Regions from separate parts of the Homo sapiens genome. Here all the other regions are linked to region 3. Evidence: promoter capture Hi-C in human tissues and cell types (Jung and others, 2019). All regions are on one chromosome and are shown on one strand. The core of a region is centred on a gene start or on the middle of the fragment in contact, and the rest is flanking DNA. Distances in the headings are between cores, read along the strand shown. Region 1 overlaps MMP24-AS1-EDEM2 (MMP24-AS1-EDEM2 readthrough). Region 2 holds the start of TRPC4AP (transient receptor potential cation channel subfamily C member 4 associated protein). Region 3 holds the start of UQCC1 (ubiquinol-cytochrome c reductase complex assembly factor 1). Region 4 holds the start of PHF20 (PHD finger protein 20). Region 5 overlaps ACSS2 (acyl-CoA synthetase short chain family member 2). Region 6 overlaps PHF20 (PHD finger protein 20).

Evidence for each region. Contacts are between HindIII fragments. The study calls those that stand out against the background at their distance.
Region 1: a contact is called between a fragment that was not itself captured here and the fragment with the promoter of UQCC1 in region 3, in 1 of the 25 tissues and cell types used here (IMR-90 fibroblasts).
Region 2: a contact is called between the fragment with the promoter of TRPC4AP here and the fragment with the promoter of UQCC1 in region 3, in 1 of the 25 tissues and cell types used here (aorta).
Region 4: the fragment with the promoter of PHF20 here is called in contact with the fragment with the promoter of UQCC1 in region 3 in 1 of the 25 tissues and cell types used here (bladder).
Region 5: a fragment that was not itself captured here is called in contact with the fragment with the promoter of UQCC1 in region 3 in 1 of the 25 tissues and cell types used here (dorsolateral prefrontal cortex).
Region 6: a contact is called between a fragment that was not itself captured here and the fragment with the promoter of UQCC1 in region 3, in 1 of the 25 tissues and cell types used here (small bowel).

Annotation. Positions count from the first base shown.
Region 1 is chr20:35,139,089-35,143,808 of GRCh38, forward strand. MMP24-AS1-EDEM2 (MMP24-AS1-EDEM2 readthrough) reads right to left here. Exons shown (of 15, transcript NM_001355008.2): 8 at 3,285-3,390. EDEM2 (ER degradation enhancing alpha-mannosidase like protein 2) reads right to left here. Exons shown (of 11, transcript NM_018217.3): 4 at 3,285-3,390. Among named protein-coding and RNA genes, the nearest start is that of EDEM2, 5.9 kb to the right of the region's middle. The HindIII fragment of the contact is 7,283 bases long and covers 1-4,720 here.
Region 2 is chr20:35,091,025-35,095,832 of GRCh38, forward strand. TRPC4AP (transient receptor potential cation channel subfamily C member 4 associated protein) reads right to left here and starts at 1,783. Exons shown (of 19, transcript NM_015638.3): 1 at 1,590-1,783. The coding sequence starts at 1,757. RefSeq lists an enhancer at 1-28 and a silencer at 1,555-1,684. The HindIII fragment of the contact is 9,696 bases long and covers 1-4,808 here.
Region 3 is chr20:35,409,246-35,413,763 of GRCh38, forward strand. It overlaps UQCC1 (ubiquinol-cytochrome c reductase complex assembly factor 1), which reads right to left and starts at 2,728. Exons shown (of 10, transcript NM_018244.5): 1 at 2,695-2,728. The coding sequence starts at 2,718. RefSeq lists enhancers at 2,060-2,883, 2,474-2,573, 2,634-2,783, 2,884-3,706, 2,914-2,963. The HindIII fragment of the contact is 20,339 bases long and covers 1-4,518 here.
Region 4 is chr20:35,770,021-35,775,012 of GRCh38, forward strand. PHF20 (PHD finger protein 20) reads left to right here and starts at 1,995. Exons shown (of 18, transcript NM_016436.5): 1 at 1,995-2,059. RefSeq lists silencers at 2,063-2,442, 3,447-3,741. The HindIII fragment of the contact is 9,618 bases long and covers 953-4,992 here.
Region 5 is chr20:34,906,133-34,911,146 of GRCh38, forward strand. The region is part of intron 2 of ACSS2 (acyl-CoA synthetase short chain family member 2); the gene reads left to right. Among named protein-coding and RNA genes, the nearest start is that of ACSS2, 32 kb to the left of the region's middle. The HindIII fragment of the contact is 4,448 bases long and covers 1,012-5,014 here.
Region 6 is chr20:35,844,203-35,848,640 of GRCh38, forward strand. It overlaps PHF20 (PHD finger protein 20), which reads left to right. Exons shown (of 18, transcript NM_016436.5): 4 at 3,148-3,232. Among named protein-coding and RNA genes, the nearest start is that of PHF20, 74 kb to the left of the region's middle. The HindIII fragment of the contact is 7,233 bases long and covers 1-4,438 here.

The sequences.
Region 1 (4,720 bases), core at 1,810-4,309, 270 kb before region 3:
CACATCTGTAATCCCAGCACTTTGGGAGCCGAGGTGGAGATCACGAGGTCAGGAGATGGAGACCATCCCGGCTAAAATGGTGAAACCCTGTCTCTACTAAAAATACAAAATATTAGCTGGGCGTGGTGGCAAGCGCCTGCAGTCCCAGCTACTTGGGAAGCTGAGGCAGAAGAATGGCTTAAACCCAGGAGGTGGAGGTTGCAGTGAGCCAAGATTGCACCACTGCACTTCAGCCTGGGTGACAGAGTGAGACTCCGTCTCAAAAAAAAAAAAAAAAAGTCTGGGCACGGTGGCTCATGCCTGTAATCCCAGCACTTTGGGAGGCTGAGGCAGGTGGACTGCCTGAGCTCAGGAGTTCGTGACCAGCCTGGTAAACACGGTGAAACCCTGTCTCTATTAAAAATACAAAAAATTAGCCGGGCATGGCGTTGTGCGCCTGTAGTCCCAGCTACTCGGGAGGCTGAGGCAGGAGAATTGCTTGAACCCAGGAGGCGGAGGTTGCAGTGAGCTGAGATCATGACACTGCACTCCAGCCTGGGCGACAGAGCGAGACTCCATCTCAGAAAAAAAAAAAAAAAGAAAAGAAAGAAAGAAAAGAAATCTACATGTATGTACCTTATGGTAAAACTGCAGAACACCAAAGGGAAAAATGATCTCGAATGCAGCCAGAATCCATGTAATAATAATTATTAATGCTGGGTGATGGGCACGTCTGGTTCATTATGCTATTTTCTCTACTTTTATGTTTGAAGTTTTCCATAACAAAAAGTTTTTAAAAGGAGAAGACAGCCAAAGTGAAAACCAAAACAAGATTCTCTACAAATAAATAATAATTACATTGACAGATTACTTCTTAACAATAATGAAACCAGAAGATAATGGAAAAAGTTTTTAACACAATAAGAGAAAGTAACCATCAACCTAGAACCATACACCCAGCAAAAATATCACTCAAAGGCCAACCAAAGGCAGTTGAATAAAGACATTTTCATATAAACAAAAGCTGGGAATGTTTATGAAGCACACACCTGCATTAAAGGAAATTCTAAAGGAAATACTTTAGAGAAAAGGTCTGAGACACGAAAAGAAAAAATAGTCAAAAAAGTGGTAAATAGGCCAGGCACAGTGGCTAAACCTGTAATTCCAGCACTTTGGGAAGCCAAAGCAGGTGGATCACTCAAGATCATGAGTTTGAGACCAGCCTGGCCAATGTGGTGAAACACCATCTCTACTAAAAATACAAAAATTAGCCTGGTGTGGTGGTGCACAACTGTAATCCCAGCTACTCTGGAGGCTGAGGCAGGAGAATCGTTTAAACCCAGGAGGTGGAGGTGAGCCAAGATCGCGCCACTGCACTCCAGCCTGGGTGGCAGAGTGAGACTCTATTTCAAACCAACAACAACAAAAAAAGTGGTAAATTTATGTGTAAATGCAAAACTTCAACAATATAGAACAAAAATTATAATGTATGGAAGGTTTAAAACAAATAACTAAAATATATAACTGTAGCATATAGGTCAGGATGTTCTCTAAGTCAGGTTTTGCATTATTCAGGAGGAGAACAAAGATTTTCATTAAATTTAGACTTTGATAAGTTATGTTTGTTAAATTTGCTTGGAAAACTATGTAAAAAGCTAGATATTGTGCATAATTTCCATATTAGTAAGAGGAAAATGGAATGGGGGGAAAACAATCTAAAGAAGGCATGAAAAAGGACAGAATAAAGGAACATAAAGAAGATGGCACAGGGCCAGGTGCAGTGGCTCACACCTATAATCCCAGCACTTTGGGAGGCTGATGGGGGGCGGATCACCTGAGGTCAGGAGTTCGAGACTAGCCTGGCCAACATGGTGAAACCCCATCTCTACTAAAAATACAAAAATTAGCAGGGCACGGTGGCAGGCACCTGCAATCCCAGCTACATAGGAGGCTGAGACAGGAGAATCGCCTGAACCCGGGAGGCAGAGGTTGCAGTAAGCCAAGATTGCACCACTACACTCCCGCCTGGGCGACAGAGTGAGACTCCGCCTCAAAAAAAAAAAAAAAAAAAAAAAAAAGAAGACGGCACAGAGAGCACAATACTGTAGAAATGAGTGCAAATATATCAGTAATTACAGTAAATGTAAATGGATTAAATGTGCCAGTTAAAGATTGTCAGAATGGATAAACAAAATATAATACACTATTTGCAAAAGATGTATCTAATCATAAAACTACAGAAAGATGGAAAGGATAGAAAAAGATACATGGGAAAATGTCAACCAAAAGAAAGCTGGTATCACTTATATTCCTATCAGAAATAAAGGTATAAGAATGACCTTCATTTACAGATGACAAACTGGGCTCAGAAGCTGGGAGACATAGCAGCAAGTACAGCCTCAAACTCAGGCCGGATTCCTAAACCAGGATTTTAGACCATGTTGTCCCTCTGCTCTCTTCTCTTTTTTAATCTTTTATGGATCATATGTCTGGAATATAAGTTTCATTGCAGAAAACATACAAAATAATGGGGAAAAATAGAACTCTGCCATCCAGAGGTGACAGCTGTTAAGTGGTCTAGAGGTTCGATGCAAATAAGGGCTGTGCTGGCTTCACAAGAATCACTGGAAGTCTGCTAAAAATACTGATTCTAGGACCCAACACAGAGATTCCAATTCATTAGGTTTAGGGTGGAGTCTCAACATCTGAATTTTTTAACCACTTGGGAGTGGTTCCTATGGGCTGCCAAGTTTGGAAGATTAATGCTGTAGATTTGCACTGTCCAATACAATAATCACTAACTACATGTGACTACTTAAATTTAATATCATTAAAATTAAATGAAATTAAAAATTCAATTCCATAGTTGTAGTAGATACATTTCAAATGCTCAATAGCTCATGTGGTTCGTGGCTACCATACTGGACAAAACACAGCTATAAGACATTTCCATCACTGCAGAAAATTGGATTGGACAGACAATAAGTTCCAAGAAGGCAAGGATCATATCTTTCTTGTTCATAGCTGTATGCCTAGTATCAAATACATATTAAAGAGGTGAGTAATCTGGTGTATTTCTTTCCAGTCTCTTAGTCTCCTGCTCACTTTCATATCTGAAACTGATGGGGAAATCCTGAGACTTCCCCACCTCACCCTCCAGGAGGGAAGAAGAGCTCTGTCGGTCAGAGGTTTTGGCCAAGGGTCCTGGCATGGTCAGTCCTTAAAATCCTATTTACCACTTCTTGGTTTACAGAGGCAACTTCACACTCTTTTTTCTTTTAAAGGTCCTAGAGAGCAGCCCTTACCTCGAATGTTTGTTTCAAACACAGAGGCGTTCACATCAATATCAAAGTCCACGCTGTCCTGGAGCACTTCAACCACTCTTTGGAATTCTGAGACATTCCCCAAAATCTGGAAATAAAAAAGAGACCTGACAATGAGGCTCTTACATGCATGGAGGCAGATTCAGAGTCTGGGATCCTATGTTGATGTGGCCCTCACTAATTCCACTTAAGACCTCCAGTTTCTGTCCTAGGATTGGTGACAGCAGAAGAAAACACTGAGAGCTAGAAATCATCTAGAGACTTCATACCAAGAGACTGGTTAAGTAAATTCCTAGGTCCCAATTAAGAGTCACGATGTTGTCATTTAAATGGACACAATATAAAGAACGCAAACTACGCATAGAAGTCTTAGGTTTTTTGTTTCGTTTTTTTGAGACAGAGTCTCGCTCTGCTGCCCAGGGTAGAGTGCAGTGGCGTGATCTTGGCTCACTTCAAACTCCGCCTCCTGGGTTCAAGCGATTCTCCTGCCTCAGCCCCGAGTAGCTGGGATTATGCACCACCATGCCCGGCTAATTTTTGTATTTTTAGTAGAGACGGGGTTTCACCATGTTGATCAGGCTGGTCTCAAACTCCTGACCTCATGATCCACCCGCCTTGGCCTCCCAAAGTGCTGGGATTACAGGTGTGAGCGACCGCACCTGGCCAAAAGTCTTAGTTTGACATTTGCAGTAGATACCAGTTGTCACCTTCAACCTTGTGGAAAACAGAACAGGTTGGTTGGCCCAAAACAAATTCATTCCTACCCTCTTTACCTCATGGCCTCCCACCAGAGGTTGGAAATCCAGAAGCTTTCTCGGCCTCCTTTGCTGCTGCAGTTGATTGTGTTACCCAGTCAATTCTGACCCTTGAGAGGTCTACTGGGGGCACTTCTGGGAAGGCTTCTGTTTTCTTAATACCAAGGGACAAACACAGCTAACATGGCTTTTAGTCTCTCTCTTTCTGCCTTGAACTCAGACTCGATTTCTGAAGTGATGGCAGCTATGTGAGACCATGACGTACTAAGCATTAGAATAAAAGCCAAAACACTAACGATACTAGAATGCAAAGCTACAAAGAGGCTGGTCTCTAATGACACAGTTGCGTAGCTGACCCAATGCTAGAAATTACCTCTAGACTTTCTTTTACTTGAGAAAATAAACCCTCTTTATTTAAACCGTTAGCCAAATGCAATCTCAATCTCTCTTCTTTTGATAGTAACATCTCAATTTACCCTCGAGGAATCACTCTTCCCCGGCAGTCACTCCTGTGGTTTGGGAGAGGCTGATCCCATCCCTCTAGCTGTGGAGTGGGTACTTGACCTGAACCAGTCCAAGTCTTTTTTTTGAGACAGGGTCTTGCTCTGTTACACAGGTTGGAGTGCAGTGGTGTGATCATAGCTCATCACAGCCTCGAACTCT
Region 2 (4,808 bases), core at 533-3,032, 320 kb before region 3:
GAAGGAAAGAGCAAGTATTTCTAGGATTTTTTTTTTTTTTTGAGACAGGGTCTCACTCTGTCAATCTCCGCCTCCCAGGCTCAGGTAATCCTCCCACCTCAGCCTCCCCACAGGCACACACCACCACCATGCCCGGCTAAATTTTTGGAGACACAGGATTTTGCCGTGTTGCCTGGGCTGGTCTCGAATTCCTGGATTCAAGCGATCTGCCTGCCTCGGCCTCCCAAAGTGCTGGGATTACAGGGTCTTAAGTCAGGTCTTAAGAACACAAGGGGGAAAAAGGCTGCTCATCTATGGTTGTGTGATGGCCAGGAAAACATTTCTCACTCACAACTGCTCCTTTCGTCCACAGTCCTCCATACACACAGACCCCCTAGCCTTTATTTTATTCTATCCTTTTCGTCATTTGAGGAAGTGATATTCAAATTAAATTTAAATAAAGTTACACTGTGAAAAGTCTCACTCCCATTTTCTCCCCCTTTAGCCCAATTCCCACCTCACTCCCACCAACCACTTTATCAGTTTCTTGAGTATCCTTCAAACTTTTTATGAAAAAGCTGTCTTTAAATAAAGCTAATGTTTTACAGGTGTTAGCAAGGTTCGGGGTGGGGGAGGGTGGAAGAAGTAGTGGACTAGGTCCTATTCAACCTGGTTTACCCTAAAGCAGTGTCCTTCGCTCACTCAAAAATAACAATAATCATATGTTGGGCACCTGTTATAAGTCAGATGCTTAATATTAACTACCTTCAGCCCTTAGTATGCACCAGAAATGCACTAATGCTTTACACAATTGCCCCCTTTGATCTCCACAACAATCTTAAAAGGTAGGTTACTAATTCTCATCTTCATCTTACAAGTGAGGAAACTGAGGCACAGAAAGGTCACCTGCCCAAGCAAGAGAGAGGAGCAGGGCTTTGAACCCAGGCCTGACTCCAGAGTCCCTCTTAACCGTGACGCTCTACACTAGCAAACCAGATATAGTCTCTGCACCCGCTGGAACTCAGCCTAATGTGGGAGACGGGCGAGAAAAAGGCAGACAACAAAGAAATACGAAATTATAGACTAAGAAAGTAATGTAAACGAAACGAATTCGCGGCTGTGACAGAATAACAATGGGGACCTACTTTAGAAAGGGGAAGGAAAGAGTGTCAAGGAAAGGCCTGAGAAAATGACATTTATGAAATGCTCGGGAACCATTTGGGGGCTGCAATGATGACCCCCTCCCCCACGCCCAATACACGGGATAAACTCGAGGCCCACAGAGGCTAAAACAAACACGACAGGGTCCCCCAGACGTGTAGACGTGGCGCAAAGAAGGGAGGATCCAGAAACTGGGCCCAGGGTTCGTACACGCCATCAGTGTCCACAGCAGCCCAGCCCCGCTCGGCCCCTGACAAGGGACATCAAGCCAGCTGCTTCCCACGGCCCCGCTGCAGCTGAGAGCGTCCGGGCAGCTCACAGGGAGGCCTTCCGGCCAGCCAAAAGGGCTTTGGCCCGTCCAGCGGCGGCCTGGAAAGGCCTCTTCCCCGGCCCCCCGCCAGCTCCCGCCTGGTCCGCCCCGCCCCGCCCCTCCTGGTCCAGCCTCGTACCTGCACCGCCCGGACCAGGCCCCGGCCGGTCAGCTGGCCCTGCCGCAGCTGCAGCAGAATGTTACCAGGCCGCGGCCGGCCGCCCCATCCGCCCCAAGCCGCCACTGTGGCTGCCGACCGTCTCCCTCGGCCGGCTCCAGACCCAGCCGCTACCGGCGCCGCCGCCATGTCTCCTCGTCGGACAAACAGGAAGCAAGCGGCCTCGGGGCCGCGGAGATTTCTACGGGGCGGCGGAGGGGTCGCCGCAGCGCCCCCAGTGGGCCGTCGGCGGAGGCGCAAGCCGCGTGGCAGGGACCGTGTGCGGCGTGGAGGCTACTGGGAATTGTAGTCCTGCGCGGCAGCGGGGTAGGTGGGAAAAGAGATGTGGCCTTTCCTGCACTGCCGGTTTCTCTGGCCCCCGGGCCCAGCATTTCGGCGAAATCTCCCAAGGTCCACATTCTCCCATTTCTCTCGCCGATTTGGGCAGGATGCAGGCAGCTGGCCAAGAAATGATCCTGGGCTTCAGGTCAGGAGTCAGGCCCTCGAGTCCGCTTCCTGCCTGCTTCTCTCTACACGTGACTCACCGCGGACATCGACCAAGTCATCGCGCTCTGCCACTGCGCCTGTGTCCTCGTCAGGTCACTCCATCTATAGATTCTGGGAGCCTGATCAATCGTAGTTCCTGGGGCTTTCTCTGCGCCCGACACCAAACCATGTCTAGGGGAAAGGGAGGGTGTCTGGGATACAGTGGTGAGCAGAACGGCCTGGGATCCTTTATCACGAAATGCAGGTTACAGGGGAAGACAGCAGATCCATACACAAAGAAACGCAGTCTCAAACTGGATAAGTTGTGTAACTGGGTAGGTTGTTGTGAAATTAAATAATGGAAGGGAAAGGGATTAGTAAATTGTGACATCATATTCTCTGTCAGATGAAAACCCTGTCCTAATTTCTATCCACCAGATAGCATGTTGTCTCTAATACTCATTTTTTCAGCTAACTTCTGTGGCAGGATGGCACTGACTCCCCCCACCCAACACACACACACTTTTTCCCTTCCTAGCAGGGGGCCTGTAATAAAAATGAAAGAGGAGAGCTAAGTGTGATGTAACAGGGAATGGTGAAGATTGTGACTCATAACTAAGATGACTGTAACTTACTGCTCAAACCAGAACACTTTAAAGAATGAAAAGACACAATAAATAATTACACCGGGACGGTAGGCATAAAAGTGACTCTCCCAGGTGAACTGGCACTATGGTTACCATCCTCACACCCCATCTAAAAGGAGTAGACTCACCATCCATCTTCATAGAACTAGAAAAAAGAATCCTAAAAATCATATGGAACCAAAAAAGAGCCTGCATGTCCAAAGCAAGACTAAGCAAAAAGAATAAATCTGGAGGCATCACATTACCTGACTTCAATCTATACAATAAGGCCATAGTCACCCAAACAGCATGGTACTGGTATAAAAATAGGCACATAGACCAATGGAACAGAATAGAGAACACAGTATAAAACCAAATACTTATAGCCAACTGATCTTCGATAAAGCAAACAAAAACATAAAGTGGGGAAAGGACACCCTATTCAACAGCTGGTGATAACTGGCAAGCCACATGCAGAAGAATGAAACTGGATCCTCATCTCTCACATTATACAAAAATAAACTCAGCCGGGTGCAGTGGCTCACACCTGTAATCCCAGTGGCTCACACCTGTAATCCCAGCACTTTGGGAGGCCGAGGTAGTCAGATCATGAGGTCAGGAGTTCGAGACCAGCCTGGCCAACATGGTGAAACCCCATCTCTACTAAAAATGCAAAAATTAGCTGGGCGTGGTGGCATGCACCTGTAGTCCCAGCTACTTGGGAGGCTGAGGCAGGAGAATCACTTGAACCCTGGAGACAGAGGTCACAGTGAGCCGAGATCACGCCACTGCACTCCAGTTTGATGACAGGATGAGACTCCATCTCAGAAAAAAAAAAAAAAATAGCCAAAGAAGTTACAGTCAGGAGATATTTTGTTCCCTATAGAAACTGAATATAACATCTTAAAATTTGTCCCTGAGTGTTGTTTCTTAGAAACTCGAACCCCCACCAAATGGATCTGCTGATAGGCAAACTCAGATAAGGGAGAGCTGAGAACTAAACTTTGACTTCTATTTTTTGTTATAAATTTCTTCCTAGGGGGCCTGGAGGAGGACACGACCATAAGTCAGAGCTAACATTCTTTTCTGCAGATCCCAAATTTTTAGACAAAGCTTTACCTCCTTAACCAATTACAAGTCAGAAAATCTTTGAATCCACTTGTGGGCCCCTGGTTGGAGATGTCCTGTCTTTTTAGGTGGAACCAATATACAGCCCCTATGTATTGATTTATGACTTCGCCTGTGGCCTCTGCCCTCCTGCCATTAAAAACCTGTAAGCCGGCTGGGCGCGGTGGCTCACACCTATAATCCCAGCACTTTGGGTGGCCGAGGCAGGTGGATCACCTGAGGTCAGGAGTTCGAGACCAGCCTGACCAAAACGGCAAAACCCCGTCTCTACTAAAGATACAAAAATTAGCCAGGCATGGTGGCACGTGCCTGTAATCCCAGCTACTCGGGAAGCTGAGGCAGGAGAATCGCTTGAACCCAGGAGGCAGAGGTTGCAGTGAGCTGAGATTGCACCACTGCACTCCAGCCTGGGCGACAGAGCAAGACTCTGTCTCAAAAAAATAAAATAAAACCCCTGTAAGCCATAAGGGAGTTCAGGTCTTAAGCATAAGCTGTTTGATTCTCCTCGCTTGGCACCCTGCAGCAAGTGCAATAATAAATGCCTCACTTTCTCTTGCTGTAATCCCAATGTCAGTGGCTTTGCTGCACCAGGTAAGCAGCCCTCACTTTGGTTCAATAACAATACTTTTCATAACTTTTTGCACCAGCTATGTATCATTTCTAGATTCAAGAAAAAAAAGTCTTCTAATATGTGAAATTAACTTTAAAAAGACATAAAAAGAAAAGGCATTTCCAGGGATACAAACAGGGCATTGGTGAGCTGTCCGGGCAGCAGCCAGCCTTACCAGGGAATCCACAGCCCAGGGATTCCACCCAGAGCTCTTCCTGAGGCATATGGTGATGGATATTCTCACCCTTGTCGCGGTGAGGAGACAGGATCCTGACTAATTTCACAGTTCACATGGCCCTCCAGGTTTCCCTTGGCACTCATCATGCTAGGGACAAATCTTCCCACCTCAGC
Region 3 (4,518 bases), core at 1,478-3,977:
ATCACCTGAGGTCAGGAATTCAAGATCAGCCTGGCTAAAATGGTGAAACCCCATTTCTACTAAAAATACAAAAAATTAGCTGAACGTAGTGGCACGTGCCTGTAATCCCAGCTACTCAGGAGGCTGAGGCAGGAGAATCGCTTGAACCCGGGAGGCAGAGGTTGCAGTGAGCCAAGATCACGCCATTGCACTCCAGCTTGCGCAACAAGAGCAAAACTCCGTCTCAGAAAAAAAAAAAAAAGTTTAAAAGGTAAATTTTGTTACATGTATTTTACCACAACTTTTTTTTAATTTTCTAAAGTACAGGGTGGCTTTCTGCAATTTTTACTATTTCCAAAGAAAAGCAGAAATGATCAGCAATGCCCAGGACAACTCATAAAAACCATAAGCATGTCCAGTTCCACTGATCAAATGTCCAGGCTCTCTGCTGTAGTCATTCAACAATAGCAGTGTTTTAGTTTCCTCCTCCTTCCCAAAACCATCACTGGAGAAGGGAAAATATTGGCTGACAAGACAAAAAGAGGAAAAAATAAAGCAAGACTAACAAGAATGTTTCAGGAATACTTCTTTTTTTTTTTCAGACAGAGTTTCACTCTTTCACCCAGGCTGGACTGCAGTGGCACAATCTCAGCTCACTGCAACCTCCGCCTCCTGGGTTGAAGCAATTCTCGTGTCTCAGCCTCACGAGTAGCTGGGATTACAGGCGCCCACCACCAGGCCTGGCTAATTTTTGTATTTTTAGTAGAGACAGGGTTTCACCACGTTGGCCAGGCTGGTCTTGAACTCCTGGCCTCAAGTGATCCACCTACCTCAGCCTCCCAATGTGCTGGGATTACAGGTGTGAGCCACGGCACCTGGCCAGGAATACCTCTCTGTGGTTCAGTTTTCTTATCTGTAAAATAGAGGAAATAACACGCCCTCCTTTCCAAAGGGATGTTATAAGGATTAGGTAAGTATTTTAAAGTGCTTAGCACGTAGTAAGTGCCCTATAAAATGATAGTTGTCAGGCCAGGCTCGGTGGCTCATGCCTGTTATCCCAGCACTTTGGGAGGCCGCAGGAGGCGGATCATGAGGTCAGGAGTTCGAGACCAGTCTGGCCAACATGGTGAAACTCCATCTCTACTAAAAATACAAAAGTTAGCCAGGTGTGGTGGCAGGCGCCTGTAATCCCAGCTACTTGGGAGGCTGAAGCAGGAGAACTGCTTGAACCCAGGAGGCAGAGGTTGCAGTGAGCCGAGATCACACCGCTGAACTCCACCCTGGGTGACAGAGCGAGACTCCATCTCAAAAAAAAAAAAAATACAAAAATTAGTCAGGTGTGGTGTGGTGCATGCCTGTCATCCCAGCTACTCGGGAGGCTGGCACAGGAGAATTGCTTGAACCCGGGAGCAGAAGTTGCAGTGAGCCCGAGATGGCACCACTGCACTCCAGCTTCGGCGACAGAGCAAGACTCTGCCTCAAAAAAAAAAAAAAAAAAAACAAAACCCTAAAGGGTGGCAGGGGAAGGATTAAAAAAAAAAAAAAAAAAAAAACCACTAAATTCAGAACATTCTAATTGCCATTTCCCCAGCAGTCCTCATTTCTGAATCAATTTCTGGCCTGAAATCAAACAATCACTTCACCAGGTGAATCTTTCTGGCAGTTACAGGGGCTACTCTACAAATAAATATTTACTGAACAGCAGTCGAGGGTACCTCACTCTGCTAGGCTGGCAAGGAATACAAGAAGTAAAACTGTCGTCCTTGTAAGACATATATAAAAAGATCAAAAACACAAATGTAAAATAACAATTCAGAAGTTACCTAGACACAGGAATAGACCATGTCTACTATGAAAAACAGTGTCTTTGACCCAGTTTTTGAAGACTCGCTAAAACTATACACTCTCCCATCCCTCCATGATTAAAAACTAAGCTCTGTATCCTAACGTTTTTTCTGCTGCCACTTTCTTTTCTCCTTTAATTGCTAGAGAAAAGAGTATGCTAGAAGGGTCAGGACTAAATCTCAAGAGGTGCAGTAGTTTCACACACGGGTGCTAAAGAGTCTGGTAGTCTTTCCTTACTTCATTCATTTATTCAACAAGTAATCATTTAACACCTATGATGTGCCAGACACCATGCTAGGCAAAGTGAAAACGACGGAGACAGACATGACTCCAATTCTCACGCAGCTTTCAATCTAATAATCTATATTCCACTTAACTGTACAGTTAAGAACTGACTTATTACCTATGAAAGAAACCCTGAGAATCTCAGAATCTAAAGGGACTGCAGGAGATAAATGTCCTCGTTTTTCACATAGGGTCAATGAGGCCCAAAAGTGACTTGCTTAAAGTCACTATGCATCAGTGACAGTCAGGGACTAGAACCCAGGCCTCCTGAAACTCCAATCAGTGTCCTACATGCTCCTCTCCCTGAGGGGAAGCAGGTACATGGGGGAGGGAAGGAAAAGTAAACCCCATCAAATAAAGGCCAGATGTCAGTCTTCCCCTTCTCGAAAGATGGGGGAGCTAAGGTCAAAACGGGGTAGGAAGAGGTCGGAAGCTGCCTCAGTTTCCCCACGGAAAAGCGGCCACTCAGCCTAGCTATAACACAGGCTTCCCTCCTGCGATTCCTTCCAATTCCTCCCGCCCTGCCTTGTCGAACTCCAACCCGGGACCCAGAGAGCTACCGTAGAAAATTACTCCTTCACTCACAAGGACTCGCACCAGCAACGCCATGTTCCTCAATAACCATTTCCGGGTGAAGAGTGAGTTTCCGGTGTCCCCTTTTCTACGTCCTCCTTTTGCCGGCGAAAGACTGGCAAGGGGGGCGCAGGCGCAAAGAGGTCGCTACGCGCACGCGCTGTTGTTTTCTCGGCTGTGCACCAGGCTGTCGTGCCCGGGCACGCTCTCCCTGCTGTCTCCCCCACTACACGTAACAGTGGTTCAAATCCTTCCCCCACGCCTGTCTCCTTGACCCCAGACCTCGGGGCTTCTCATATCCCTCTCTTTATTCCCCACCTAACCCAGCCTCACTCCTCAGCCCCTCCTTCCCAAACTCCACCCCAACACTTTTCAATGGAGGTTGAAAAGAACAGGACTTTAGGAAATCCCAATCTTTAGAAAGAGCCAGAAGACCGGGCGCGGTGGCTCACGCCTGTAATCCCAGCACTTTGGGAGGCCGAGGCGGGCGGATCACCTGAGATCAGGAGTTCGAGACTAGCCTGGCCAACATGGCAAAACCCCGTCCCTAACTAAAAATACAAAGAAAGTAGCCGGGCATGTTGGTGTGTGCCTGTAATCCCAGCTACTCTGAAGGCAGAGGTTGCAGTGAGCCGAGATCGCGCCACTGCACTCCAGCCTGGGCGACAGAGCAGGACTGGACTCTGTCTCAAAAAAAAAAAAAAAAAAAAAAAAAAAAAAGCCAGAGAAGGAGGCTAAGATAAAAGAATACGGGGGATACCAGACTCCTGAAAGTCAAGGCAAGAAGGCGGTCATGTGCCGATCTGAAGCCTGGTAGAGGAAGAAACTTTTGGGATTTGTGGTTGGTTGGTTGTTTAAGGGAAACATCTTTGCATATTGATAGGAAAAGATTAGTGAAGAGTATACAGGGCCGTGCCCGGTGGCTCATGCCTGTAATCCCAACACTTTGGGAGGCCGAGGCAGGTGGATTGCCTGAGGTCAGGAGTTCAAGACCAGCCTGACCAATATGGTGAAACCCCGTCTCTACTGAAAATACGAAAAAAATTAGCCGGGCATGGTGGCGTGTGCCTGTAATCCCAGCTACTTGGGAGGCTGAGGCAGGGAATCGCTTGAACCCGGGAGGCAGAGGTTGCAGTGAGCTGAGACTGGGGCACTGAACTCCAGCCTGGGTGACAAAGCGAGACTCCGTCTCAAAAAAAAAAAAAAAAAAAGAGTATACAGGAGAATCAATCAAAGAGGCAAGGAGCTTCTTGAGGAAAGTGGCAGAGAACGGCCTTGGTAGAAGACTCCTCTTCCATTACATCCCAAGAGAAGAGAAGACAAAGTACTGGTGCTTTGGGGGTTGAGGGAGCAGAGGGGCAGGATGTTGAAGGACTTCTTTCATTTCATTCAGTCAACAAAGACCTATTGAGTCTTCCCTATGTGCTGAACACAAGACATACTGGCTTCATGGAGTTCTTAGACTGGTGGGGGAGGCATAGGAACCCAGTGAAAAAAATTAAAACTGGGGAGCTACTTTGGTTAGGTTGGTAAGGCCTCTCCAAGAAAGTGACATGTAAGATGAAATCTAAAGGAAGAAGAGGAGCTAGTCATGGGAAATAACTTCACTCGACTATTTTTTTAATTAAATTTATTGATTTTTATTAATTGACAAAAAATATATATTGTGTACAACAGGATGTTTTCTTTTTTCTTTTTTTTTTTTTTTTTGAGACAGAGTTTCACTCTTGTCGCCCAGGCTGGAGTGCAGTGGCTCAATCTCGGCTCACTGCAACCTCCACCTCCCAAGTCAAGCGATTCTCCTGCCTCAGACTCCCAAGTAGCTGGGATTACAGA
Region 4 (4,992 bases), core at 745-3,244, 360 kb after region 3:
ACCACCACACCTGGCTAATTTTTGCATTTTTAGTAGAGAGAGGGTTTCACCATGTTGGCCAGGCTGGTCTCGAACTCCTCACCTCAGGTAATCTGCCCGTCTTGGCCTCCCAAAGTGCTGGGATTACATGCGTGAGCCACCGCGCCCAGCCATGTTACAATTTTAATAGAATACATGTACTGCCCAAGCAAGTGTAGCTGAAGCTTTTGTCCCTGGTTCCACAGTGTCTCTACCTAAGGGCTGCTCTTTGCCCTGACTACCTCAACTGAGGCAATACCCTCCTTAGTTTCCAGCCCTGGTTTAAAAAGCACCCCTCAGGCTGGATTTGCTGGCTGAGGCCTGTAATTCCAGCATTTCTGGAGGCTGAGGCAGGAGGATCACTTGAGCCAAGGAGTTTGAGACCAGCCTGGTCAACAAAGTGAGACCCTGTCTCTAAAAAAAAAAAAAAAAAAACTCGGCCGGGCACGGTGGCTCACGCTTGTAATCGCAGTATTTTAGGAGGCCGAGGCGCGCGGATCATGAGGTCAGGAGTTCAAGACCAGCCTGGCCAAGATGGTGAAAACCCGTCTCTACTAAAAAAAATATAAAAAATTAGCTGGGCGTGGCGGCGTGCGCCTGTAATCCCAGCTACTTGGGAGGCTGAGGCAAAGAATTGCTTGAACCCGGGAGGCAGAGGTTGCAGTGAGCCAAGATCGCACCACTGCACTCCCGTCTGGGCTACAGAGCGAGACTCTATCTCAAAAAAAAAAAAAAAAAGTGGCCAAGTACGGTGTTAATTCCAGCACTCTGGGAGGCTGAGGTGGGTGGACTGCTTGAGCCCAGGAATTCAAGACCAGCCTGGGCAACATCGTGAAACTGCGTCTCTACAAAAAAATGCAAAAATTAGCCAGGTGCACACCTGTGGTTCCAGCTATCTGGGAGACTGAGGTGGGAGAATTGCTTGGGCCTAGGAGGTGGAGGTTATGAGGAGCCGAGACTGCGCCACTGCACTCCAGCCTGGGTGACACAGTGAGACCGTGTCTCAAAAAAAAAAAAAAATTAGCTAGGCATGGTGGCATGGGCCTGCAGTCCCAGCTACTCAGAAGGTTGAGCTGGGACCACAGGTGCGCACGTTCACGCCTGGCTAATTGTTGTATTTCTTGGAGAGACGGGGGTCTAGCTATGTTGCCCAGGCTGGTCTCGAACTCCTGAGCTCAAGTGATCTACCCACCTCAGCCTCTCATAGTGTTGGGATTACAGGCGTGAGCCACTGCTCCTGGTCTCATATTCTTTTGGGGTGGCTTCAACTCCGACCTTCGTCCCCAGAGAAAATACAGCTCCTTATCCTTAGCAGCAATTGGAAACCTTTCTAGGAGTTAATGATAAAGTGGGGGAGAAATGAGTGCAAAGGCTCTGAGATGAGAAGAACCTGGATTGTTAGCGGAGTTGAAGGACACTGAGAATGTGGGGGAGCTGGATTCGTGAGGATAAGAAAGCAGCAGGTCAGGTCCAGACTTTGAAGAGCCTGGTAGATAGTCTAGGTGAAGAGTTAGATCTTAATCCGGAGTAGGGAGGGAAACGAGCTTTGAGCAGGGGATGGCGTTTTGAAAAGACCTCTCTGCCGGTGTACGAAGAATGGATTAGAACGGCGAAGAGTAATAGGGTGGAAACCATCTTCATCTTGGAGAGAGATGGTGGTCGCTTCGATGGAGAAATGGGAAGCTTTGAGACGCATTTAGGTGGCAAAATTAACGGGTGATGGATAGCGTCCATTCCCCGGCTTCGGTGATCTCAGTGATTACGAGTGAGTGGGGACTTCGTGTTCCTGCTAGGGCGCGGGCCTGTTTCCCGCGCGTCAGGGTAGTGGGCGTGGCCTGCGCAGGCCGTTGCCACAGTGATCGGGCAGACGGGGCAGGGGGCGGGGCAGCTGGGACCTTACGTCACTCGGTGGTGGCGATGATGCGTGTGTGTGGGGGGCGGGGCATACGCTGGGCGCGTCCCGGGGGTCACGTGGTGCAGAGCACGCAGAGTCCTTCTGTCGGTTGGTCCTGGAGCGGCGCAGCCGGAGTGGGGCCGTGAGGTGAGCTCGCGGCCAGGCGAAGCCGGCCGGCCGGGCCGGGTTGGGCCGGGCCCGCGCTGCGCGCGCGCCGTGCGGGCGGGGACGGCGACGGACGCCACCGCTGCTTCGGTCCCCTGCCCGGCCCCGCTCCCCGCCTGGCCCCGCTCGCCCAGCCTGGAGGGAGGCCCTGGGACTGCTGCTGAGAGCGTGGCGGGCGTGCGAGCGGTGCCCAATCCCCGGGGCTACCCGCAAGAGTGGCGGCGGCTGCCGCCAATCAGCGCCGCCCGAGGGGGCTGGGCCGTGGGGTGCGGGCCCGGGGCGCGGAGCGGGCCGTGTTGGGGGTGCGGGTAAGCCCTAGGGCCCGAGCCTGAGCTGTGTGGGCACCTAGAGCCTCATCAGCAGCCTCTGCTATTGCCTTGCGCTTTGGGAATATGTTTTTTAAAATTGGCTTTTTTTATCCTATTCTGGGGAGCACATTCCTTTCTCAAGACCCCAAATATGGGAGTGTCCCTTTTCTCTATAGTTTTGAAAACTGGGCGGCACACCCCCTTTCTTAAGCTCTAGCTCTGGAATTTTATCTAAATTTCTAAAAGCCCTCCCCCCCCCAAATTTAGGGCGTACCCTCTTCCGTCAGCCCCCAAAGTGGGAGCACATTCCTTTTTTCGGGCCTCCAATTTGATTCTGCATTTCCGTTCCAATTTAGAGGTTCACCCTGTTATCGGGTCCTCAGATCTGGGGTCCATTAGCTAAAGTTTTGGGATACTTTCTTGTATCCCCTCTACTCCAAGGAAGAATTCCCCTTTTCCAGGTCCCAAATCTGACAGCATGCCTTCTGGAATTTCTTACATTTAGGGGCCACTTCCTTTCCTCAGCCCTTCAAACCTGAGGTTGGGCCGAAAACAATGTCCAAATTTTGAAGTTTATGGGTACTTATTTCCAGTTTCACAAATAAGGGAATTCACTGCCTTCTCCCGAGACTGTATTATTGGGGTTACACACTTTTCACGTGTTCCCCAAATCAAACTACCTTATTTCCTGAAGGAGACTCATTTTCATATCTGGGAGTATATTTGTTTCTTGTGCCCCCCAAATGTACGAGGTGAACCCCTTTTAGTTATACAACTCTCAGAGTGCAGCCACTTTCCAGATGCTTCTTAAATTTGGGGGGCACACCTTTTTGTGAGTCCTCTCATTTCCAGGTGGCGAGTGGTCTGTGGTTTTGAGCATGCCTTCCTACCCTGTTTAGCTTTTCTGTCATCCAAGACATTTTCATTCCTCAGTTTCCTTCCCTTTTTGGAGCCACACTCCCCTTGAGGTGCTTTCCCCAGTCTGGTCAGTGCACCCATTTCCTCTTCCTCTGGCGAGTGCGTATCTTTGTTCAGCACGGCACTTTTCTCTGTGCTTCTGCGGGCTTTTCTTCTGAGCACACTTCCCAGAGTCACACCTCCTGAATTCTCCTCTCCTCCCAGGGAAGGATTCCTCTCCTAAAGGGCTACCAGCACATTGTTTTTGATAGGCCTATCTTTTATCTTTCCGCTAGCAGGATCTCTTCTCTCTTGGCTTGCCCAATCCCCAAACATTTTTCTGGTTTCTGTCTTTCTTTGGAATTGTTCTGTTTACCTAGTGGCTATAAAGATTTTCCTTGTGCTGGAGGTGGCCTCAAGTCTAGGACTGCCTGGGCCCCCAGCGCTGGATTCAAAGTGGAAACCATTTCTTTGGTTAATCACAGGACTCTGAATCCTCCTGGTGGTTTACTTCTAGAAGACCTAAGATTCTGTTTAGGTGCATACTGTTTTCTCCTTTGCTTTATCTCCTTGTGCTGGAAAACAAAAACAAACAAAACTCTCAGATTTTTCCAGCACTGCTTCTAGCCCATAAACTTCTTCCCTATATTGGCTTTCTTACTATCTTTTATGAAGAAAAGATGTCGTTTGGAGGAATCCCTTGGATACTCTTTTTGTTCTTGTCCCTGGGGTGTCGGTGGGGAAATGGATATTTTTCTCTCCCAATCATCCTCTTGTCAATCTTCTTTTTTTTTTTTTGAGACAGAGTCTCGCTCTGTCGCCCAGGCTGGAGTGCAGTGGCGCGATCTCGGCTCAGTGCAAGCTCCGCCTCCCGGGTTCACGACATTCTCCTGCCTCAGCCTCCCGAGCAGCTGGGACTACAGGCACCCACCACACCGCGCCCGTCTAATTTTTTTGTTTTTAGTAGAGACGGGGTTTCACTGTGGTCTCGATCTCCTGACCTCGTGATCCACCCGCCTCCGCCTCCCAAAGTGCTGGGATTACAGGCGTGAGCCACCAAGCCCGGCCAACCTCTTGTCAATCTTTACCCCCAATCCTCACATTAAAATCTGCAAATATCTGGGACCTCCTATCTCTTAAGAGCCTCAATAGTTCTTTCTTTTGTGTTTCCTTCTGCCTTTACAGATCTTATTCAGGGCTTCTCAGCCTGAACCCCCAACCAGATTAATTTCTCCACAGCTGGAATTCCAAGTGCTTGGGGATAATGATACCTCTGACCTTTCTTCCTTTTGGGAAGTACTTGAGTGTGCAGCTGCATGAGGCCTCAGCAGGAGAGAGATTTTAGGTCCAAGAAGCTATACCAGTAGGACAAGGCAGGAAAATACTACACTTTCAGGATCAAGCCCCTCTGACTCTCATTTGGAAACTGGATGTTTGCTAAGCACCTGCTTCTTAAGGATGCCGAGGGATTTAATGATACTCCCAGAAACCTGGAGAGATTAATGGGGCCTATGGAGAAGTGCTCTGAACTCAGTGTTGGGACTTGAATAAAATTAACCATTGTCATGTTTTCAGAACAACTAAGCTGTTTTATATTTCATGTGCATGAAAGCCCTAGAACTAAGTTGTGTTATTTCCAGAAATGAAATAGATCCCACAGTTAGATGATGTGGCCATTAGGAAGTACCAAATTTATAAAAATCACTGGAG
Region 5 (5,014 bases), core at 1,986-4,485, 500 kb before region 3:
AGACCATCCTGGCTAACACGGTGAAACCCCGTCTCTACTAAATATACAAAAAATTAGCTGAGCGTGGTGGCAGGCGCCTGTGGTCCCAGCTACTCGGGAGGCTGAGGCAGGAGAATGGCGTGAACCTAGGAAGCACAGCTTGCAGTGAGCCGAGACTGCGGCACTGCACTCCAGCCTGGGTAACAGAGCAAGACTCCGTCTCAAAAAAAAAAAAAAAAAAGAGTTCTGATATCCTAGAGGGCTTGGGATTTTGCAGTAGGCCAATACCCTGCCCCTCACCTTTCCCAACCAGCCAGGGGCCCCAGCCTGGTGTGTATGTCAGAGAAAGAAGACACTGGAATGAGTAAGGTGCTTATATCAATAATGTATAACTTGAGCCCATAGCCAAGGAGAGGAATGCACACTGTGGTGTGTGTGTGTGTGTGTGTTTCACGGTTGGAAGTGGGCTCAAATAAGTTGTACTTGCATAGGTTGTGCTTATTTCTTCTTGTGCACTCTCTATGTACTAGGCTGTACTTGAGGTGCTAGGGATGTAGCAGTGAAGAAAACAAATAAGATCTCTGCTGTCAGCTGGGTGCAGTGGCTCACGCCTGTAATCCCAGCACTTTGGGAGGCCGAGGCAGGCGGATCACCTGAGGTCAGGGGTGTGAGACCAGCCTGGCCAACATCTTGAAACCCCGTCTCTACTAAAAATACAAAAATTAGCCAGGTGTGATGGTGGGTGCCTGTAATCCCAACTACCTGGGAGGCTGAGGCAGGGAGAATTGCTTGAACCCTGGAGGCGGAGGTTGCAGTGAGCCGAGATCGCACTATTGCACTCCAGCCTGGGTGACAGAGCGAGACTCCATCTCAAAAAAAAAAAAAAAAAAAAAGATCTCTGCTATCATGGAGCTTATATTCCAGTGAAGAAAACAGATAATATATAAGTAATTAACATACATGAGATAATTTCAAATAATGGAACGTTTCATGAAAAAAATAAAACAGAATGTGTTTTTTTTTTTTGAGACAGTCTTGCCCTGTCACCCAGGGTGGAGTGCAATGGCGCAATCTCAGCTCACTGCAACCTCCATCTCCTGGGCTCAGGTGATCCTCCCACCACAGCCTCCTGAGTAGCTGGGTTTACAGGCATGCGCCACCATGCCCGGCTAATTTTTGTCTTTTTAGTAGAGTTGGGGCTTCGCCATGTTGGCCAGGCCGGTCTCAAACTCCTGGCCTCAAGTGATCTACCCACCTCAGCCTCCCAAAGTGTGGGATTACATGTGTGGCACCTGGCAAAACAGAATGATTTGATAGAGAGTTTCTGAAGGGGCACACTGTGCACATAGGTGGCTACATGTATATGGTGGTTGTACTTGCAGATACAGATAAGTCCATGTTTGAATCCTGGGTGCATATATTTATCCTTGTTTGTGCCTATGTGTGCAGATGGGCAGCTTTTATGCCTAGAATGTTTGTATATTTATATGTGATTTTATACAAGTGAGCGCACATAGGTGAGTTGGTATGTGGTTTGCATATGGGGACACATGTGCTTGGGTATGTATATGTTGGCATTCAGCCATAACCGGAGACGTTCTGAAGTTCCTGTGGCACTTGTCAGTGAGCCAGTTAAGGAAATGGCTTTTCTGCCTCTGGCATTCAGGGCCGTTTGCCAGCTTCCTCTCTCCCTGTTCTTTCCCACTTTAGTAAGCTCCCTGTGTTTGGCTTCTCTCATCCCTAGGAGGGTTAAAGCCTACTGACTCATCGAGCCAGGAACTGGAAAAAGGCTGATAATCTTCTGTGTGACCTCTGTTAGTAAGAAAAGGCCTGGCTTCCCTGCCAGTCCCTGTCCTTCACACTATGAGGGAGAGTCCTGACTTGAAATCAGAAGACCTGAGCATCTATTCTTGGCTCTGCCACTTATTATTGTGTGACCAATAATCTCTCTAGGTTTCAGTTACCTCCTTCATAAGTGCTCTGTGCAGTAAGGAAGGAGAGGGGAAGCAATGGTCTGTGGTGCTAAGGGAGAGCCAGATGGTGCTGGTGTCTGAAGGAGGAGGGAGAATATTCTGAGCAGGGGCAATGATGTGGCCAAAAGCGTGGAGGTGGACCTGAACTTGCCAAGGGAAACCAGGGATCCACTTACAGTAAAATTCAAACTTCTTACTATTGCCTACAAGGCTCTACGTGATTTGGCTGCTGCCTACCTCTCATTCTTACCCAACTTCTTGCTCACTGAAATCTAGCCATACTGTCTTTCTTTCTTTCTTTGAAAAGGTCTCAGTGCCTTTTCACTTGATGCTCCTTTTCCCCAGAATACTCTTCCCAAGAATTAGTATGATTGCCTACCTCTCATTATTCAGGTCTTGGCTCAAATATCACCTCTCCAGAGAGAGGCCTTCCAGGACCATCTTATTTAAAGTAGTTGTTCCCTAATATTTATCAATATTTAAAATGCACACATCAGCCAGGCACGGTGGCTCACGCCTGTAATCCCAGTACTTTGGGAGGCCAGGGCAGGTGGATCACCTGACGTCAGGAGTTCAAGACCAACCTGACCAACATGGTGAAACCCCATCTCTACTAAAATGCAAAAATTAGCCAGGTGTGGTGGTGCACGCCTGTAATCCCAGCTACTCAGGAGTCTGAGGCAGAAGAATTGCCTGAACCCAGGAGGCGGAGGTTGCAGTGAGCCAAGATCGCGCCATTTTACTCCAGCCTGGGCAACAGGAGCAAAACTCCATCTTGGGAAAAAAAAAAAAAAAAAGCACACATCTCTTGAACCAACAGGTCCACTTCTGGTAATTCATCCTACAGATATACTTGCAGGTGAGTAAAGTGACATAAAAATAAAAATATTCATTGAAGCATTTATTTGTTAAATAAATTACAGTACATACAAATAGTGGAATATTTTGCAGCTGAGAAAGATAATGAAATAGCTCTTTAAGCTTGGCACCGTGGCTCACACCTGTAATCCCAACACTTTGGAAGGAAGGCTGAGGCAGGAGGATTGGAGGATCACTTGAGGCCAGGAGTTCCAGACTAGCCTGAGCAACATAGTAGGATCCTGTCTTTGCAAAAAAAAAAAAAAAAAAAAAAAGGTAGCCAGACATGGTGACTCTGGCCTGTAGTCCCAACTGCTCAAGAGGCAGAGGTGGGAGGATCACTTGAGTCTGGGAGGTTGAGGCTGTAGTGAGCTGTGATGGTGCCACTGCACCCCAGCCTGAGTGACAGAGTGAGACCCTGTCTCAAAAACAACAACAACAACAAATAAAAAAGAGAAATAGTTCTTTAAGTCTTGGTGAAGAATGATATCAAGGTATATTGTTAAATTTGAAAAATCAAGATGATCAATTTCTACACATAAGATTTGTGCATTTTATTGAATGCATATAATAATTAACAAAAGATACAGAATAGTGTGTATTGTATGCCATCATTTGTGTAGAAAAAATGAGACTATGTAAACAAATGCATGTAGTATATATGCTTGTCTGACAGACCTGTCCCTTAAGTAGAGCAGTTCTTCCTACCCCTGTTACCCTGTGCTTGACTGGGGACTATGAGGTGTTCATCTCTTTTCTGAACAACATTAAAATCCTTTTTTTTTTTTTTTTGAGACAAAGTCTTACTCTGTTTCCCAGGCTGGAGTGCAGTGGTGTGATCGCCGCTCGCTGTAGCCTTCACCTTCTGGGTTCAAATGATCCTCCCGCCTTAGCCTCCCAAGTAGCTGGGACTACAGGCGTGCACCACCATGCCCGGCTAATTTTTGTATTTTTAGTAGAGATGGGGTTTTGCCATGTTGGCCAGGCTGGTCTCAAACTCCTGACCCCAGGTGATCTGCCTGCCTTGGCCTCCCAAAGTGCTGGGAATACAGGTGTGAGCCTCTGTGCCTGGCCAAATTTTTTTTTTTTTTTTTTTTAAACAGAGTTTCACTCTTGTCGCCTAGGCTGGAGTGCGATGGCACGGTCTCAGCTTGCTGCAACCTCCATTTCCCGGATTCAAGCGATTCTCCTGCTTCAGCCTCCTGTAAAATTCAGTTTTTTAACATTCAATTTTCAAATTTTGGTCTTCAATGATATCTCAAGGGTCTTATTAAAGATCATAATGATACAGACTTCTTGCAAAGTAATTATTTTGGTCATTCCACACTAGTTGAATTACCCTAGCCCTGTGTCCTACAAAGAATGGTCCTGTCTGAATATTGATTGTTTCTGGAAAGTCACACAGAATATTGGTAACTGTTTTGCCCTGGGCATGGTGGCTCACGCCTGTAATCCCAGCACTTTGAGAGGCTGAAGCAGTTTTGCTTGAGGCCAGGAGTTTGGAGACCACCCTGGACAATATATCGAGACTCTGCCTCTATGAAAAATTTTAAAATAAAAAAATTAGCCAGGTGTGGTAGCATGTGCCCGTAGTCCCAGCTACTCAGGAGGCTGAAGTAAGAGGATTGCTTGAGCCCAGGAGTTGGAGGCTGCAGTGAGCTATGATTGTGCCTCTGTACTCCAGCCTATCAATAGAGTGAGACCCTGTCTCTAAAAAACAAATCACAAAACCCAAACTGTGGTTTGCCAGTAGGCAGGGTGATTGGGAGATAGGAGTGGGGAGAACACTTCTCATTATGTATCTTTTTATGTAGTCCCACTTGTATGTATTACTTATTCAAAAAAATCATAAAATTGGAAAAAAACCACTAAGGGAAACATTTATTTATTTATTTTTTGAGACAGGGACTCACTCTGTTGTCCAGGCTGGAGTTCAGTGACATGATTACAGCTCACTGCAGGCTTGACCTCCAGGGTACAAGCGATCTTCCTGCCTCAACCTCCTGAGTAGCTGAGACTACAGGTGTGCACCACCATGCTCAGCTAATTGAAAACGATTTTTTTTTTTTTAGCAATGAGGTTTTGCTGTGTTGCTCAGATTGGTCTTGAACTCCTGGTCTCAGGTGATCCTCCTGCCTTGGCCTCCCAAAGTGTTGGGATTACAGGCATGAGCCAAGAGATCTTCCCATCTCATCTTTCTGAGT
Region 6 (4,438 bases), core at 980-3,479, 430 kb after region 3:
AGCGATTCCCCTGCCTTATCCTCCTGAGTAGCTGGGACTACAGGTGCGTGCCACCACACCTGGCTAATTTTTTGTATTTTTAGTACAGATGGGGTTTCACTGTGTTAGCCATGATGGTCTCGATTTCCTGACCTCGTGATCCGCCTGCCTCGGCCTCTCAAAGTCCTGGCATTACAGGTGTGAGCCACCGCGCCCAGCCGGTTTTTTTTTTTTGGTTTTTTTTTTTTTTGATAATGTTGTCCAGCTTTATTTTTGCTTTCTTGCCAAAGATTTGTCAAGCTCCTCACTCTGTCATTATAAAATTCCCACCCTGAGAATCTCCCATTTTTCTTCACCATCACCACACACACACACACACACACACACACACACACACACACACACACACAGGCTGAAACAATAAAATATAAAGTTCATCCTAAGAAGAAGATATCGAGTCCAAAGAGGGTTATCAACTTTAGAAAAGAAGCAAAGAAATCATAAAATAATGATATTTTAAGATTACAGATTAAGCCCTAATTTAGAATATTTTTAGAAATTTTATCATATTAAAACAAGGGTGAAGGCACTATAGACTCTTGTTTTTTAACTAACTTTATTTAAATTAGCTATACCCATTTTAAGTGTATGATTTCATAAGTTTTGTGTAATAAGCTTAAATTTAATAAGCATTTAAATTTGTGATATAAAAATCACCCATTTTAAACTGTATAGTTTAATAAGTTTTGCAAATTTATATTGTCAGATAGCCACTGCCATATGATACACAATATTTTCATTATGACAAAAAGAAGCTCTCCCTCAAATTGCTTTTCATTCAGTCTTCACCAGCCAGTCCTGGACCAGTTCTGGACCCTGGCTTGCCACTGATCTATCTATTTTCTGTTTATAGTCCTATTTTTGTTTGGTTTTTCATTTGAAATAAAATCATACTGTATGTAACATTTCGGGTCTGACTTACTTCAATTAGCATATCTTTTGAAGCTTCATTTATGGTGTTTTTTTTTTCTGTTCCTGTAATAACAGTTTGTTTTATTTTTTTAATTTTATTTATTAATTTTTTTATTATACTTTAAGTTCTAGGGTACATGTGCACAATGTGCAGGTTTGTTACATATGTATACGTGTGCCATGTTGGTGTGCTGCACCCATTAACTCATCTTTTTTTGTTTTTTTTTAAAGAGACGTTTTCTTGCTCTGTCGCCCAGTCTGAAGTGCAGTGGTGCAGTCTTGGCTTAATGTAGCCTTGACCTCTTGGGCTCAAGCAATCCTCCTTCCTCAGCCTCCTGAGTACCTGGGACTATAGGCATGTACCACTGTGCCTGACTAATTAAAAAATTTTTTTTGTAGAGACAAGGTCTTATTATGTTGCCCAGGCTGGTCTTGAACTCCTGGCCTTAAGGGATCTTTCTGCCAAAGAAGGAAGATCCTTCGTACCTCCCAAAGTCCTGGGATTATAGGCGTGTGCCCTTGTGCCTGGCTAGTTTTAAGGTTTTTAAACAGGCATTGAGACATCTATAATGGTCCTGCTGCTTTTGGATCTGACTCAGACTCAGCCCTGCCTTCTATTTTTCTTTCTTTTTTTTTTTTTTTTTGAGGCAGTCTTACTGTATGGCCGAGGCTGGAGTGCAGTGGCATGATCTTGACTCACTGCAACCTGTCTTTCGGGTTCAAGTGATTCTCGAGTCTTAGCTTTCTGAGTAGCTTGGACTACAGACGCATCCAACCACACCTGGCTAATGTTTGTATTTTTAGTAGAGGTGGGAGTTCATCATGTTGGCCAGACTCCTGGCCTCAGGTGATCCACCTTCCCCAGCCTCCCAAAGTGCTGGGATTACAGGCACGAGCCACTGTGTCCGGCTTATTTTCTGTTTTAACCCTATTAGGGAACTTGAACTATTGCTGGCCTTTTTTTTCTTTTTCCCAATTAAGGATTATTCAGTATTGTTCCATTTGACTTTTCAGTGTTCATTCTACAAATTTTTTTTTTTTTTTGAGACAGAGTCTCACTGTATCACCCAGCCTGGAGTGCAATGGCGCAATCTCGGCTCACTGCAACCTCCACCTCCTGGGTTCAAGTGATTCTCCTGCCTCAGCCATCGAGAAGCTGGGATTACAGGTGGCCGCCACCACACAGGCTAATTTTTGTATTTTTAGTAGAGACGGGGTTTCACCATGTTGGCCAGGCTGATCTCAGGTGATCTGCCCACCTTGACCTCCCAGAGTGCTGGGATTACAGGTGTGAGCCACTGCACCTGGCCCATTGTACAAAATTTATCAGTGCAAACTGTGTGCTGGGAAAAGAGTATAAAATATTAAAGGTGAATGGTTGCTTTCCCTGGCAAAAGACCCTTTAGAAGTGTAGATGGCATTAAATGCTGCTTCCCTGAGTATGAAGTAGCCTCATATCTTCTGACTCCTATACTGGATGTGTATTCTAGTAGTCCTGGCCTCTTAGACTCATTTTCAGAATGTATGCTGGTTAGGGTGGAATTATCATCAGTGCTGTTCTGTGCCTGCCCAGACCTCTTGGGCTTATTGAGGTCTTGTGTCCCAGCCCTTTTGTTTTGACTCCTGTCTTAGTCTTTTCTGTGTTGCTATAATAGAATACCTGAGACTAGGTAATTTATAAAGAAAAGAGGTTTGTTTAGCTCACAATTCTGCAGGCTGGGAAGTTCAAGTGCATGGTACTGGCTTCTGGCATCAGCTTTCATGCTGTGTCATACATGGTGGAAGGTCAAAAAGGGAGACAAGTGTGAAGAGAGGGACCAAACAGAAGGAGACTTGCTTTGTAACAACTTGCTTTCTTGGGAATGAATCCATTCCCAGGAGAGCGAGAAGTCACTCCTGTGAGACAGCATTAATCTATTCATGAGGGATCTGCTACCATGACCCAAACACCTCTCATAGGCCCCATTTTCAACACTGCTGCACTGAAAACGTTTACTTTTGGTGAGGACAAATGACACCGAAATTATAGCAACTCCTAGTGTTGAACAACAGAAATATCTTCCTCCATCTCAACAGCTACTTTCCCTTCACACTTTCTTATCAATCCCAGCTTCTTTTATGAGATCTGGTATGTCCTGTATGTCCTGTGAAATTAGGTTGGTAACAGGATCTTTTTTTTTTTTTTATGTTTTTTAGGAATTTCAAATAAATGAGCAGGTCCTTGCTTGCTGGTCTGATTGTCGTTTTTACCCGGCCAAAGTCACTGCTGTTAACAAGGATGGTAAGGCATTTGAGTTGTAGTTGTTTTTACTCATGACTTAGGTGGTGGGGGGGGATGTTTGTAATATCAGAGCTTGATAGTATATTTTCAGTATTTATTTACTGCCTAGGTATCCGCTTTATTCAAGTTAATCACTATGTCAGGAGTTGGGTAGAAATTATAAGTGTAAAGAAAACTGGACAAAAAAGATAGTTTGACTTTTTACCCCCTGAATTTCAGTCATTGTTTTCTAAAACAGTCACAGTTCATCTGTCACTCTGCCTGGAAGTATGCAGGTACTTGCTGTCTAGGAGTTCCTAATATAATTGATGACATAGTCCTGAATATTTGTGAATAGCTTAGAAATTAAATGAACACTAACAAACTTTAAAAAATGTGCTTTCTAGATGCAAGGTGACTGAGGGTGGTCTGTAACATTGGAGTTGCTAGTGGAAACTGGGATGCCGGAATTTAGAGCACTGAGTTGGGTTTCATTTGCCAGAGTTGAACATGTGAAGAGACAGGATGGGGAACTTGACTAATAGAGGCTCAATTTTGCTAGTAAAAGGGCAGACAAAGAGTTATGAGGATAATATGTACGGTCAGGATCCTGGCACCTGGAGAATAGAGTCTGGGTCCCAGTGATACCATTGTAAGCACATTCCACTAGGGTGTGTGTGGTCTCCATGATCTCTGAAGTGAGTGTTTAGGGAAGTCAGGCCTCTTGATGCCACTGTAGGGTTGACTATTAGGCCAGCCTGACTTTTCATTTGATGAAGTTATTCAGATATTTATTAATACTCTGCTAACTGCTGGGCCTCAGGCTGACCAAGTTTTGTCTGAGAATGATTTTTTTTTTCTTGTTCTTTTTTGGGACAGAGTCTTGCTCTGTTGCCCAGGCTGGAGTGCAGTGGTGCCAGCTCAGCTCACTGCAACCTCCATCTCCTGAGTTCAAGCGATTCTCCTGCCTCAGCCTCCCGAGTAGCTGGGATTACCAACGTGCACCACGGTCAGCTAAATTTTGTATTTTTAGTAGAGACGGGGTTTCGCTATGTTGGCCAGGCTGGTCTCATGTGATCCACCCACCTCGGCCTCCCAAAGTTTTGGGATTATAAGCGTGAGCCACCATGCCCAGCCGCAACTTTTTAGAAAAGTATTTTTCAGGCCAAACACGATGGTTCTTGCCTGTAATCCCAGCAGTTTGGGAGGCTCTCGTGGGAGGATCAC